Linked DNA regions of Homo sapiens: all the other regions are linked to region 1. Evidence: promoter capture Hi-C in 16 types of primary human blood cells and fetal thymus (Javierre and others, 2016). All regions are on one chromosome and are shown on one strand. The core of a region is centred on a gene start or on the middle of the fragment in contact, and the rest is flanking DNA. Distances in the headings are between cores, read along the strand shown.

Region 1 (3,342 bases), core at 619-3,118:
AATCATGACACGCTAGCTGAAAAAGTTTTCATTAATATTTTCTCCCTTTCTCATCTTAGACTCTCCCCATCCAACACTGAATATTTATTCTCTTTATCTTTTTATTTCTTTGCATGTTCCCATTTTTCCTCTCTCTTTTGAAGGTAATGGAATTTTTCTATCATGTGTAAATGCATAAGTAAATCATATAGAGGTGTATAATATACAGAAGGCTGTAAAAATGGCTTAAATGTACCATGGATGTTCCTGGAATAAACTGTTGCTATTTCAACTGCTGCAGAACAGTTAAGTCAAACTTTTGAATTAGGTCAACAAAATCCACAAATAGGGAGGAATCTTTGGACTGTCTAAGCAGGGACAGATCTGGAATAAATCAGCCACAGATATCACTTGTCGGCATGCTAAGAGCGGCATTTCAAATAAGGGTAGAAGGTATGCCAATAATATTGGCTTCTGGTAGCATTATGATGCATCCATTAATTCTATATTGAGAGTTTTCCATCATGTGGATTCAAGCTAACATAATTGTTTTATGGCAGTAATGTCTAAACAAGGGTCCACAATTAGGCTGTATTTTTATCTTGATTTGTGAACTGTCTCTGCCAACTACTCAAATTTCAAGCTTGTTGAGACATATGTTATCCCTGGAAACCCATCATAAAAATGAAGCATTTTACTGTCCCACTAATTCTGTGTGCTCTGGTCAGTTTCCCCATCTAGATCCAAATTAACCATGTAATTGTCCTTATACTAGTGACTAGTATTTTAAATGGCCTTTTTAGGGAAACCAAAAAGAATAAATTTATTGCTTTTTGTGCAAAAATATAATCTGGTTTGGATTCTCTTTTCTAGCTTTTAAAGCAGTGAGATAGAATGCAGTCGTGGGAAAAGAACTGGATATGGAATTAGGAAGATCTGCATTTGAAATCCAGCTCTGCGACTACTTCTTACGTGTGTGATCTCATAAAGTCACTTAATTTATCTGAGCCTTGGCCTCTTTACCTGTCAGATGGGGACCCTCTGGTGAATCAAATGAGCCATTAACGATCTAATAACATAACATGTTACCTTTATAACTTAATAATTCATTTAAAAAATAATTTGTGTATGTAAGGATGCAAATATAATTAGTAGGAGATAAGAATGAAAGAAAACCTTCAGCCAAAGGCAGAAATATTTTGGTTAAAAAGAAATCAAAGTACTGAAGAACAAGAGCAAGACAAAAATGATTACAACGTCTTCATTTATAGCTCACATGTCACAGCTCAGTATTTATAGGTTTGTTAGTGACAGCCTTCCCAGTATAGCAATGTTAATTACGAAGTAGCTGTCATTGTGTTTCACTGACACAGCACTGTGCACCTGACGGAGGCTGAAAGTACTCATTATTTCCATAGCTGATCATTTAAAGGTCCAAAAATTACACCAATAAATCCGTTTGTGTCTGATTACAATCTCTCTATATCGTACATTGAAATTCCCTGGTGACTTTTTAACAAATCTTAGTGCATTTTATTTCCCAAATATGATTTGTAATAATCAGAGCTTGACTAAAACCTCAGGAAGAGGTGATGGGTGTGAAGCTGAACACAATACTAAATCTATATTCAAATTTTCCAGAGCCTATACTTCCATCGTTATTTAAATGCCATGATCAAAGCAATAGATAGACTAAATATGGAGGGAAAGGAGGGAGGGAGAAACTGAAGAAGGAAGGGAGAGGGAGGGAGAGAAAGAGATCGAAGAGAGGCTTGGGAAAATGTTCAGTGGAAAATCTGTAGAAATGATGTAAGAGAAAGCAAAGGCAGGGATTGGAGTAAGGGGTGTATAACTGAGACTATAAAAACTCAGAGAGAAAACTCACCACCAGGGCTGAGTTTTGGAGAAACTGCAGAGACAGTACTCTAAAGTTAGAATCTCCTGATCTTTCACGAGGTAAGTTATATGTAAAAATTGATAAAGATTTAATGCTTCTTTTAACTATTATTTTTACTTTCACAGACTCTTTAAATGTTTTGATTATATCTTGATTTTGTTAAAATTAGAGTGGTAATATTTCCCTCTCTAAAATGAGTAGAAAATCAAAGATATTTTTGTAATGCAAACTTAAGGTAGAACTAATTGCTTATTCAGATATTTCATATTTATAAGATTGCTTTTCTCTTCCATTTCAAAACAAACAGAAAGTGAATGCAAAATAATAATTCTATACATATATATGTTATTAGCGTTATTTTGCTTTCCTCAAAATTGTGTAATATTAGAAAAATGTTTAATATAAAAGAGTGGTCTAAACAACCTAGGTAAAAAAGAAAGGTTTTTTCCTCATTATTTCTATCAAAACTGGAGCTTAAGAAACATCCCTAAACTAATGAAATTCTATCTCTTATGTTCTTAAAACCTAATGCATCTTCTGTTTTTCTCCTTATATGTCAAATATGCAAATATGATATTAATAACATAGTTGGAGTAGACTTAGAGTATGCCTGTTCTTCAGTATTTGTAGTGCTCTTGCTATTCAATGATTGAATTGAGAGTTAATCTGAAACATACATTTGAGCTCTGTTGGAGAAGAAATTTAAAATTTTATTTCAGGTTTAGTGTGCACTCAGTGAATTCAGTTCTAACAATTCAAATGTTGTTTCTTTGAATAACAGACTCTATAGGTTTAGGAATGTGATTATTATTTGTTTATGAGTTTTCCTTCTAAAAATTTAACATTTTTGAGAATGAATTATGGTAATTTTAATGCCTATATAAGTTATAGAATTGATAGTGTTATACCAAAAACACCAGGGACATTCTGTGTTTTCTCTTACTTTGGTACTACTCTTCAGCACGCTTACAGAACTTTTCTAAGGAGCACTTTCTGTAGATAACAGTTCAGGTCTCCTTCATGTCAGTGAATTTTACTATGGCTTCATTCAAAAATTATTCAGAGTGTTTAAGGTTGACATTTGCTTTCTCCCCCTTATTTCTCAGGATTTTTAACTGATTCTTATATACTGAATAATGAGCAGTAGAGAAGCAGATATCTTCAGTTGACTGGGCACGGGAACCTCAGGGCTATAATTTTAACTTCTTTTACAAATACTCTCAATGATTTGAACATTTGATTAATAAAATTAGATTAATTGAACTTGTCTCAAAAATAAAGAACTCGAAGTAAGAAATCCTAATATATCATTCTAGCTCTGCTATAATCCACCTATACAACTGCAGGCAAGCCTTAAGCACGAATTAAGGCTTGATAATATTGTATTTTGTCCTTGTGAAAAGGACAAAAAAAAATAGAAGTGCTAGGGATACTGAGTATAAAAATATTTGAGGAAGCCCCCATGT
Region 2 (3,342 bases), core at 587-3,086, 220 kb after region 1:
CACAGACCTAAATGTGTATATATAAGAAATTGCCCTTACATATATGAGAAACTTGCCTAATATACACCTATATGTGCATATATAAGAAACTGGCCTTTTATAGACATATCTCATTGTGTTTCAAAGATACTGTGTTTTTTTTTTATAAATTGAAGGTTTGTGGAAACCCTGCATTGAGCAAATCTCACCACCATTTTCCTAACAGTATTTCAAACTTCATTATTGTTATATCTGTTATGGTGATTTGCAATCAGTGATCCTTATGTTACTATTGTAATTGTTTTGGGGCATCATAAACTATGCCCAAATAAGATGGTTAATTTAGTAGATAAATACTGTTTGTGTTCTGACGGCTCTACCAATAGCCATTCCCCTATTTCTCTCCCTCACCTCGGGCCTCAGTATTCCCTGAGATACAACAATATTGAAATGAGGCTATTTAATAACCCTACAGTGGCCTCCAAGTGTCCAAGTGAAAGGTAGAGTTGTGCACCTCACACTTTCAATCTAATGCTAGAAATGATTGAAGTTCAGTGAGGAACATATGTCAAAAGTTGAGACAGGCTGAAAGCTAGGCTTCTTGCACCAACCAGCCAAGTTGTGAATGTAAAGGTTTTGAAGGAAATTAAAAGTGCTACTCCAGTGAATACACGAGTGATAAAGTGAAAGAGCCTTATTGCTTATATGGAGAAAGTTTCAGTTCTCTGGATAGAAGATGAAACCAGCCACAAGTCTCCTTTAGCCAAGCCTACTCTAGAAGAAGGCCCTAATGCTCTTCAATTCTTTGAACTATGAGAGAGGTGAGAAAGCTGCAGAAGGAAAGTTTGAAGCTAGCAGAGGTTGGTTCATGAAGTTTGAGGAAAGAAGCCACCTCCATAAAAGCACAAGATGAAGCAGCAAGTGCTGATGTAGAAGCTGTAGCAAATTGTCCAGAAGATCTAGCAAAGATGATCGATGAAGGTGGCTATACCAAACAACAGGTTTTCAATGTGGATGAATCAGCCTTGTATTGGAAGAAGATGTCATCTAGGGCTGTCAAAGCTAGAGTGAAGTTAATGCCTGGCTTAAAGCTTCAAAGGACAGGCTGACTCTCTTTTTAGAAGCTAATGCAGCTGGTGATTTTCAGTTGAAGTCAGTGCTCACCCTTCCAAAAGTCTGAGAATCCTTAAGACTTCTGCTTAATTTACTCTATCTGTGCTCTATGAATGGAAAAATGTAACGTGGATGACAGCACATCTACTTACAGCATGGTTTGCTGAATATTTTAAGCCCACTGTTGAGACCAACTGCTCAGAAAAAAAAATTCCTTTTAAAATATTATTGCTCATTGATGATGCACCTAGTCACCCTAGAGCTTTGATAGAGATATACAAGGATATTAATGTTGTTTTCATGCCTGCTAACATAACATCCATTCTACAGCCCGTAGACCAAGGAATAATTTGAACTTTCAAGTCTGATTATTTAAAAATTTCACATTGTGAGGCCATAGCTGCCATAGATTGTCATTCCTCTGTTGGATCTGGGCAAAGTAAATTGAAAAACTTCTGGAAGGGATTCAACATTTGCGATGCCATTAAAAGCATTCATGATTCATGGGAAGAGGTTAAAATATCAACATTAACAGGAATTCAGAAGAAGTTGATTCTAATCCTCATGAATGACTTGGAGAGGTTCAAGACTCCTGTGGAGAAAATAAATGCAAATGTGATTGAAATAGCAAGATAACAATAATTGGGATGGTGCCTGAATACGTGACTTAATTGTTGCAATCTGATGATCAAACTTGAGTGGATAAGAAGTTGCTTCTTCTGGATGAGCAAAGAAAGTGGTTTCTTAAGATGGAATCTACTCCTGGTGAAGATGCTGTGAACATTGTTAAAATGAAAACAAAATATTTAAAACATTATATAAACTTAGCAGGTAAAGCAACAGCATGGTTTGAGAGCACTGACTCCAATTTTTAAAGTTATATTGTGGATGAAACTCTATCAAATAACATCCCATGCTACAGAGAAATCTTTCATGAAAATAAGTCAGTTGATGCAGCAAATTTCATTGTTGTCTAATTTTAAGAAATTGCCACAGCCACCCCAACCTTTTAGCAACCACCACCCTGATCTGTCAGCAGCCATCAACATCAAGGCAAGACCATCCATCTGCAAAAAGTTTGCAATGGTCTGAAGGATCTTTAGCAGTTTTTAGCAATAAAATATTTTTAAATTAAGGTATAATGCTATTGCACACTTAAACTATGTTAGAGTGTAAACACAACTTTTATGTGCACTGGGAAACCGGAATATTTGTGATATTTGTTTTATTGCAGTGGTCTGGAACTCAATCTGCAATCTCTCAGTGGTATGCCTGTGCATCATATTAGAGTATACATAGGTCATATATAATATGAAGATGAGGGAAAAGAGAATGCAGATGCACATAGGATGTGCTAGTAGAAAGTGAATGGAATTTCTATTTTTGATTTCTTTTTTTCCTTCTGTGTAGTAGAAGGGAATTTCCTGTGTTGAGAACGAGGAGGCAAGGAAGTTTGAGGAACGTGAAATATGACGACAAGTTATGTTCTACAATAGAACAGTGAGATTTAGAAGCTTGTGGAGAATGGTGACAGTTTAGAAGAAGAGCTGAGCTAAATGATAGAGGGGACTGACTAGGAATTGCTGAGCACTGTAGATTGAGAAAACAGCTGTGATTGGACTGTGCTCATTTATTGTGGCATCAATCTTCATGGTTGCTTGGTTTCAGCAGCCACATCGGCAACCCATATGTAGAAGCAGAAGAGGTGAATGGTTGAGAGTGATGCATTGTTGGGGTTCAGATGGGCATGTGTAACAGGGAGGCCTAGAGCCAGAGGAGAGAAAGAGGTTAAGGTAAAGCACTATGAGATCTTTGGGTGAGGCCAGGGGGGCAAGAAGTAACATTCTTGGAGAGTAGGGAAAAGTTTTCCATCAGATCACCACAAGATCAGAGTTCACGGGTCATGAAATAAGGGGATTAGTGTAAAGGATGAATTGTTATAGTCAGAAAGAAAATATTTTAGATATGGTATAGGTCTTGAGCCCATATAGTAAATAACTGAAGTGGAGTGCAAAGAGAGGCAACTATGGTTGAGAACACAAAGACCCATAATCCTACGCTGTTGGAAGTATCATTTTTATGGGCAGTGAGTCCCAGGACATGAAAAGAGGAATTATCATGGAAGCTTGTATTAATATCAAAGAAAACAGATCGGGGAAGGGCAACAATTTCATGATGCTGATCTCCAAGTTAATCCTTGGGTAATCAGGAATTTGTGTAAATTTATAGGCATAGGATTTGGCAATGCTG
Region 3 (3,342 bases), core at 576-3,075, 200 kb after region 1:
TATACTGCTAAAATAATTTCTACCTGTTAAATTTTGTGAGAGGGTTTTTGACATCAGAATTTTTGTATTTCTGGTCAAATTGGTCTTGGAAATCCCTATGGTCTCTAATTTCAGCTCTTGCTGTAAACTGCAAGCCAAATGCTCTTTCTCAGAAAGAGCTATATTTTTCTCTTCTTACAGGCAACCCAATATTTATTTCATAAAGTGTTATAAATATTGAGAAGATACACTGGGGAGATAGCATATAAAAATGATGCTCCAAAATGAGAATTCTATATGGGGCTTTCCCTAAGAAGAATCCATCCCAGCACATATTTTGAAAAGGTGCTGAATTAAAAAGTACAAGAGTTTGCTCATATAAATCAAGTTGCCCAGGAAACCTGAGGTGATGCTATCATTTGTCTCATAATTTAGAAACGTGATCTCTTGAGAGAGAGACTACGCATTGCCTGGGCACTTTCAGATTCCTTAGGAAGTGCCCCTTTGATATTTGGAATGTGGATATATTTATAAAACAAATGGATTGTTATTCCAAATCCACATGGATTTATAACCAAGCCCCAGAAGAATAGGCAGCTTTGAAATAGCTAGTTCGTGGAATTGAACAGAACCTTGATGGAATGCAGTTGCCTGTGTGAGGACAGAAAACAAAGAGGCTGCCTCAGACCACATGCCTATCTAGAGATTAAGTGAATTTGTGAGGGACATTTTGTGGATGCCTTAAAGATGACCAGTGGTGGGTTCTGATGGGAATATATACACTCATCTGGACTAGGCCAATGGAAGCAGTCTCTTTCAGTTCACCTCCGTACAGCACAAGTTGTTCCTGCTCATGACCTCATTGAGGAAAATGAGAATTGTGGTGCTGGTGACTTTCATGTGTCTTGGGAGGTTGAGGTGTTCAACATCGTTAAGGCACTCCCAAAACGCAAACCTCCTTTTTTAAATGCCAATTGTACATCTACATTAATTCATCTATGCAAACTTGTGTTTTCATGGTTTGTTTTTTACACTATATTTCTCATTAGGTTCTTTAAACATCAGGTTTAATATTGATATTATGAATAATTTTTAAACCAAAGTATTCTATAAGTCTGTGTGCTTTGTTTTCCTGGATGGTTTGACCAAGGTAAACATCAGTCTTGTCCTTCTCTCTTAATAAAGTCATCCATTTGTTAAGTCAGTGGTCTCTGTCTCATGTTTTTGTTTTGTTTCTTTACAGCATTCAAGGACAGGGAAACTTACGAGAGTCTTATTATAATTATTATTATTTACAAAATGACCCTAATAGGTCTGTTTAGTAACAGTGAAATTTTTTCTTACTCCATTTCCATACACTTTCTGTAAATATGTATAACATGATAATGATGCCTGGTGTATTGAAATCCTCAATAAATACTGCCAAGTGTGGATCAGTTGGAGAAGTAGCTTTGTTTTGTGTGTGGTGTTTCGTGGTTTGATTGATATATTTGGGAGGAAAAAAAACAGGTAAGTGGATGTTCACACAATAATTCCAGTGATTAAAGACCCCATGCACAACTCTGCACTATACCTGACACCTTGTGGACACTTCAATGTATTTTGAGAAATGGATATTAATAACTGATTTATTCAATATTTTACCTTCATAAGAATTTTTTTTTTCTTATTTGGTTTGATAGAATAGCCACAATGTAGGAAATGATTCTGCAAAAATTAGGTATCTTAAATATAATATTTTCAATGACTACTAAATTTATTTTTAAAGATGTCACTATTTAGCCACCCCTACAGTAGATTCTCTAGGCCTCAGATTCCTCTGTGGCAAATATAGCAGGAAATCTAAATGATTTCTGTAGTCTCTGCTAGATCCTGAGTAGTACCAGTGATGTGCAGGTGATACTGTTTTATTTAGTTGAAGATTAGTATGTTGATTTCAACCTTTGGTCTCTAAATAAATACTAAAGTTGCCAGTGGAAAAAGTTGATGCATCTAGAAGCCAACTAAAAAATTAAATATGCAAGTAAAACAGATCCCTTTAATCTGTGGTAAGAGGTACTCAAGGTGATAGGGTGGTTTATGGGGAATATGACTTGAGTCTGATTGTCAGGCTATGGCCATGTGGCCATGTGAAAAGGTAGCATACAAGAAAGTTCCTTCTTTTTTTTTTTTTTTTTTTTTTTTTGAGATAGAGTCTTGCTCTGTCGCCCAGGCTGGAGTGCAGTGGCGCGATCTCGGCTCACTGCAAGCTCCGCCTCCCGGGTTCACGCCATTCTCCTGCCTCAGCCTCCCAAGTAGCTGGGACTACAGGTGCCCACCACCATGCCTGGCTAATTTTTTTGTATTTTTAGTAGAGATGGGTTTTCACCGTGTTAGCCAGGATGATCTCGATGTCCTGACCTCATGATCCGCCTGCCTCGGCCTCCCAAAGTGCTGGGATTGCAGGCATGAGCCACCGCGCCTGGCCAGTTCCTTCTTACAACAGCTAAGAGACCACTATCTACCTCGCACACCTTCGAAATTTGGTGAAACCTTTAAGAGGGTTTTGGACTACTACAAATCCTAGAACCATGGTTTCAAGACAATTTTGCCCCCATTTCAAGGGCAGGAAGACCAATGCCCCTCCTCCATTGTGTTTGGGTATCATGCTTAAATGAACGAACATAAACTAAAGGCTGCTGCGAAATCAGTGTACTAAAGAAATCTACAGGAATGAGATACGGGGTCCTAGTCCAGGTTTTGCTATGAGCTTGTTTCAGGACCTTGGGACATCATTTATCCTGCTGTACCTCAGTTCACTTGCCTGAAGCACTACTTCAAGTATAACATTTGAGGATTCCTGCGGTCAACGGCTGCTGGTTTCTTTTAAGATGTTGCCAGGAAGAGAGCAGCTTTATTCACTGCTGGGTCCTGTAAAATCACAAAGACTTCCTAGGCATTCCATCATGAAAGACAACCATGATCTTTTGTTCTTTACTGCAGTATTTTGCTACTTCTGTCTCCACATCCAGTAGATTGTCATTAACTTGTTATGTGTTTTTCTAACCAATACCCATCTCTATGTTTTATTCCCAAGGCTGAAATTTGAGCCTCTTTCCTCAAATGGTCTTCGGATGTTCTTGTAAATTAACTCCACTAGTATGTCTTGCATACCATACTTCCAGGACACACCCACTTTTCTTATCGATTCCTCAGCCTAATGATGCAAATTTGGTTTTGATCATGTAGATCATAACATACCCTTAAGTATGCCTGCCACTTTAAAGTATTTTGTGTCATTACCTGATCTTTGCCATCACTAGCAGTGCTCTTTGTGCCTAATCTTTTTGAAACCTTTCCTGCTGACCTGTCCATCCCTCATTC
Region 4 (3,342 bases), core at 447-2,946, 180 kb after region 1:
AAGAAAGCAAGACCCCGAGTGGAAGGTAGAGTGTGTTTTGTTTGTTTTCTAATTAGAAATAAAATTAGAAATGAAAAGGGGACTCTGCTTTTGAGTTAAGCTCTGCAAATATATTTAGGATATATGAATATATAAATTATCTGTATTGCATATGTGAATCTGATCTGTGAAGATTCCATCACCATGAAAAATCACTGAATTTTGGAACATATGTAAAAAGTTACTGCTAAGATTGAAAACTCATTCTGTTCCCTTTAAGACGGAGTGAAATGCAAGTGCTTCTGGTCATGAACAGTCTTAGTTTTCATATACAGTACTTTGATTATAGAAGAATATAGCATTTTCACATGCTTTCATATTTTCCACAATGAACTTCTCTTCCCGTCTCTACTTTCTTTGTGCTTACATTATCTTTCATCTCTATCATGTATCCGTTTCTCTTTCCTTTGATGTAACATGGTTTGTGGCAGACTGAAAGATACATACTTATCACCAACAATTATTATTTATGTCACAGTGCAAGACCTATCTAGCGTGAGTTTGGACGGTTATCTTTCCCCTCGTTGATCAGAAATTGTAGACAAAATAAGCAGTTACTGCAATTCATTTTGCTGCGGTAATTGTGAGTTCCAGCTTAGCAGACTTTATTCATCAGTGACAGCGCGTAAGACAACACTTTGGACCTCCATGGAAAGACAAAGACATTTTTCCTGATAGTAGTGTATAATGTAGAGAGGAAGACAAAGTGTAGACAGCTAACAAATAGAAGGTTAAGCTAGGTGGAAAAAGAGCAGAGGAATAGGGAGAGAATTCGTACAATACAGGGTTTTTAGGGAGGGAGTTTAGGCCCAGAAGAATGAAACCTAGGTTGTGTATTCCTTACACAGTTGGTGTTTAGCGCTGGTCTCTCTTGAACAAATTCCTCCATTGGGTTTCTGGTCCCACCTCACAGTCTCAGTAATGGTTGTGAGGAAAAAGGTGTAGAAACCCTGCTAATAGTATTGCTGTACTCTTTCCTGTTGCTCAGTTACCCACGAGTTAGTCTCAAAACAATGAATGTATTATTCTCATATTAATTATGTATATTTAGCTCTCTCTTAACTAACTCAGTAATTCAAGATTTTTTCTAATATACTGTTTTAGTCAAGGATTCCCAAATACTTTTGTTAAATAAATTAAGCCACAAATAATTACCCAGGAGTTTCTCAGATTCTTTGCTACCTTAACTAGGAAAGGGTAAGTATTTAAGGATTAGGAATCAAGCGTGTCAGAAGGCAATGGCCACATCTCTAGCAGGTATCATCATGACTTCTGTAATTTTTATTTTATAACTGGTACTGATACAGTTCCTCTCTTGGAAAAGTTGACTTGAATGTGCCTTAGTTTACTGGCTGGAAATCAGCCTAAGACATGTGTGCGGAAATAAGTTTGAGTGCACAAACCTGGATTCCGTAGACTCTGGGCGTGCACTGGTTCTTGGCAATTACTGTGTAGCTATTATGTTAATAATCAGTGGCCAAGCACACCCATCTAGGGAAGCATGTTCCTGTGTGTTCAGCCCATTCCTCTGGCTGCTCTAAGGCTTTCAGATGAGTGGGCTAAATTACACCTTCCATGTAAGCCCAAAGCCTACCTTTGCAGCTATAAATTTTCTACCTCTGGAGTGGCCATATATAAAAATATTTTATGTTCCTCAATTAAATATAATTAATCTGAAATTACTAAGGAAGAGCTTGGCATGATAAACATACGTTAAACTTAATCTTTCCCTTTGTTTGATGATTCTGGATTGTATGTGTGTGTTATTTTTGTTTGTTTGTTTGTATTTTTGTCCATAGCCAAAAACAGCTAAAGCAGCAAATTCCAAGTCAAAAGAGAGTGATGAACCTCACCATTCTAAGAATGAAAGGCCAGCACGGTAAGCTGACACCTGAAAAGAAAAATGAGGAAGTTGACTTTGGGGTGAATAAGGAGATTTCAGTTCCCTAAGAAGAGTGTATGTTTTTTGGAGAGGAGATCCAAAAATCTGCATTTGTAAGGTAGTGTCAAGACATTCAGGGTTATTTTTAGAACTTTATTTCCACTCTTAAATTGAGTTGTGTACATCAAATCAGAATTTTACAATAGTTGGGGTGGATAAGGAAGAATGTACTTTTTGTTAGGACTGATTCTTACCTCTGCATTCACTGAATTTATGCTTTCAGCTTGGGGAATGAGAGTGATTTTTTTTCCTAAATAAAATTTCGAGTTTTAAATATTTACCGGGTTTCATAGCCACACTGATGTGTGCATGCCATTTGCACATGCTCAAACTCATTTCTTTCTGAGTCTCAGTGTCCTTGACAAAATCTTGAATCCTTGCAGACTGTCTAAATCCCACTCAACAAATAGCTGTGGCTATGGTGTACATACTTTCTGATTTATCTCAAACAGTCGTGCATAATAGTTATGGAGCAGCTGCTGTCTTTCTGCCTCAAGTTGTCAACATTTAAGTCTCTGGGGAAGTAACCTCTTTTTTTTTTTAATTGCTTTTTGTTGCCTTTCGAAAGAAAACATGATTGGAATGTGAAGAAAAAGATACTAAAAACAAGACAAAAAAGTAACACTAAGTTTAAAATTTTGAAAACTCTGAATTATTCAAATTTGAATTTTATTCTTATTTGTTAATTCTTGAAACATAACGCTTATTTCATTGAATAATTGACACTGTTGTTGCTACTCATGCCCACACTGAAGCTCCTAGACTTGTTTCCTTCAAGTGAATGTATTTAGTGTCCTTAAAAAGTAATCCTCTATTTTAAAACTCATTTGCTTTCAGAAGATAATCTTTCAGAAAATTACATTGGGTTTGTATTGCTCTGAGAAGAATAGTGGCATATTCTGTCTAGTTATATAAAATCTTTCTGTTGTAGCTTTTGGTTAAGCACATGCCAAACATTTTCTTAGAACTCTATAGGTTAGTACATTCCCAAAGTATCCAAGTAAAAGAAGCAGCAGCTAATCTGTTCTTAGTAAGTAAATACATCTGGATTATTATCCTTTTTTTAGTCAAATGAATTTAAATCATCTTTAGGCTTAATTCTGCAGTCTTCAGATCCTTGGCCTCTTTAGAATACTAATACCATTGACAGCATATATGATGGAACAGTACTGGATGATTTCTTAAGAAAGTTTATTAAAGTCTGAAAACAAGTTTTTGGAATATAATAGATACTTTAGAAATATTTGGCATACTGAAAGAGTGAATAATCAAATGATCCTGTATTAAAAATGGCTATTATAAATGAATGAAAAGTGACTTAGGGCTAGTAGAATAGAAATTTTTGTTTTTACCTTAGAGGA

Evidence for each region. Contacts are between HindIII fragments. The CHiCAGO score rates a contact against its expected background, and 5 or more counts as called.
Region 2: a fragment that was not itself captured here is called in contact with the fragment with the promoter of OSTN in region 1 in 1 of 17 cell types (naive B cells); the score reaches 5.2 in naive B cells.
Region 3: a fragment that was not itself captured here is called in contact with the fragment with the promoter of OSTN in region 1 in 1 of 17 cell types (naive B cells); the score reaches 5.1 in naive B cells.
Region 4: a contact is called between a fragment that was not itself captured here and the fragment with the promoter of OSTN in region 1, in 2 of 17 cell types (total B cells and naive B cells). The highest score is 6.5, in total B cells.

Annotation. Positions count from the first base shown.
Region 1 is chr3:191,197,373-191,200,714 of GRCh38, forward strand. It overlaps OSTN (osteocrin), which reads left to right and starts at 1,869. Exons shown (of 5, transcript NM_198184.2): 1 at 1,869-1,935. The HindIII fragment of the contact is 2,884 bases long and covers 621-3,342 here.
Region 2 is chr3:191,417,727-191,421,068 of GRCh38, forward strand. No RefSeq gene overlaps it. Among named protein-coding and RNA genes, the nearest start is that of PYDC2-AS1, 6.1 kb to the right of the region's middle. The HindIII fragment of the contact is 1,536 bases long and covers 1,069-2,604 here.
Region 3 is chr3:191,397,250-191,400,591 of GRCh38, forward strand. CCDC50 (coiled-coil domain containing 50) reads left to right here. Exons shown (of 12, transcript NM_178335.3): 12 at 1-1,410. Among named protein-coding and RNA genes, the nearest start is that of PYDC2-AS1, 27 kb to the right of the region's middle. The HindIII fragment of the contact is 5,466 bases long and covers 1-3,342 here.
Region 4 is chr3:191,380,908-191,384,249 of GRCh38, forward strand. CCDC50 (coiled-coil domain containing 50) reads left to right here. Exons shown (of 12, transcript NM_178335.3): 9 at 1-25; 10 at 1,839-1,918. Among named protein-coding and RNA genes, the nearest start is that of PYDC2-AS1, 43 kb to the right of the region's middle. The HindIII fragment of the contact is 3,482 bases long and covers 1-3,342 here.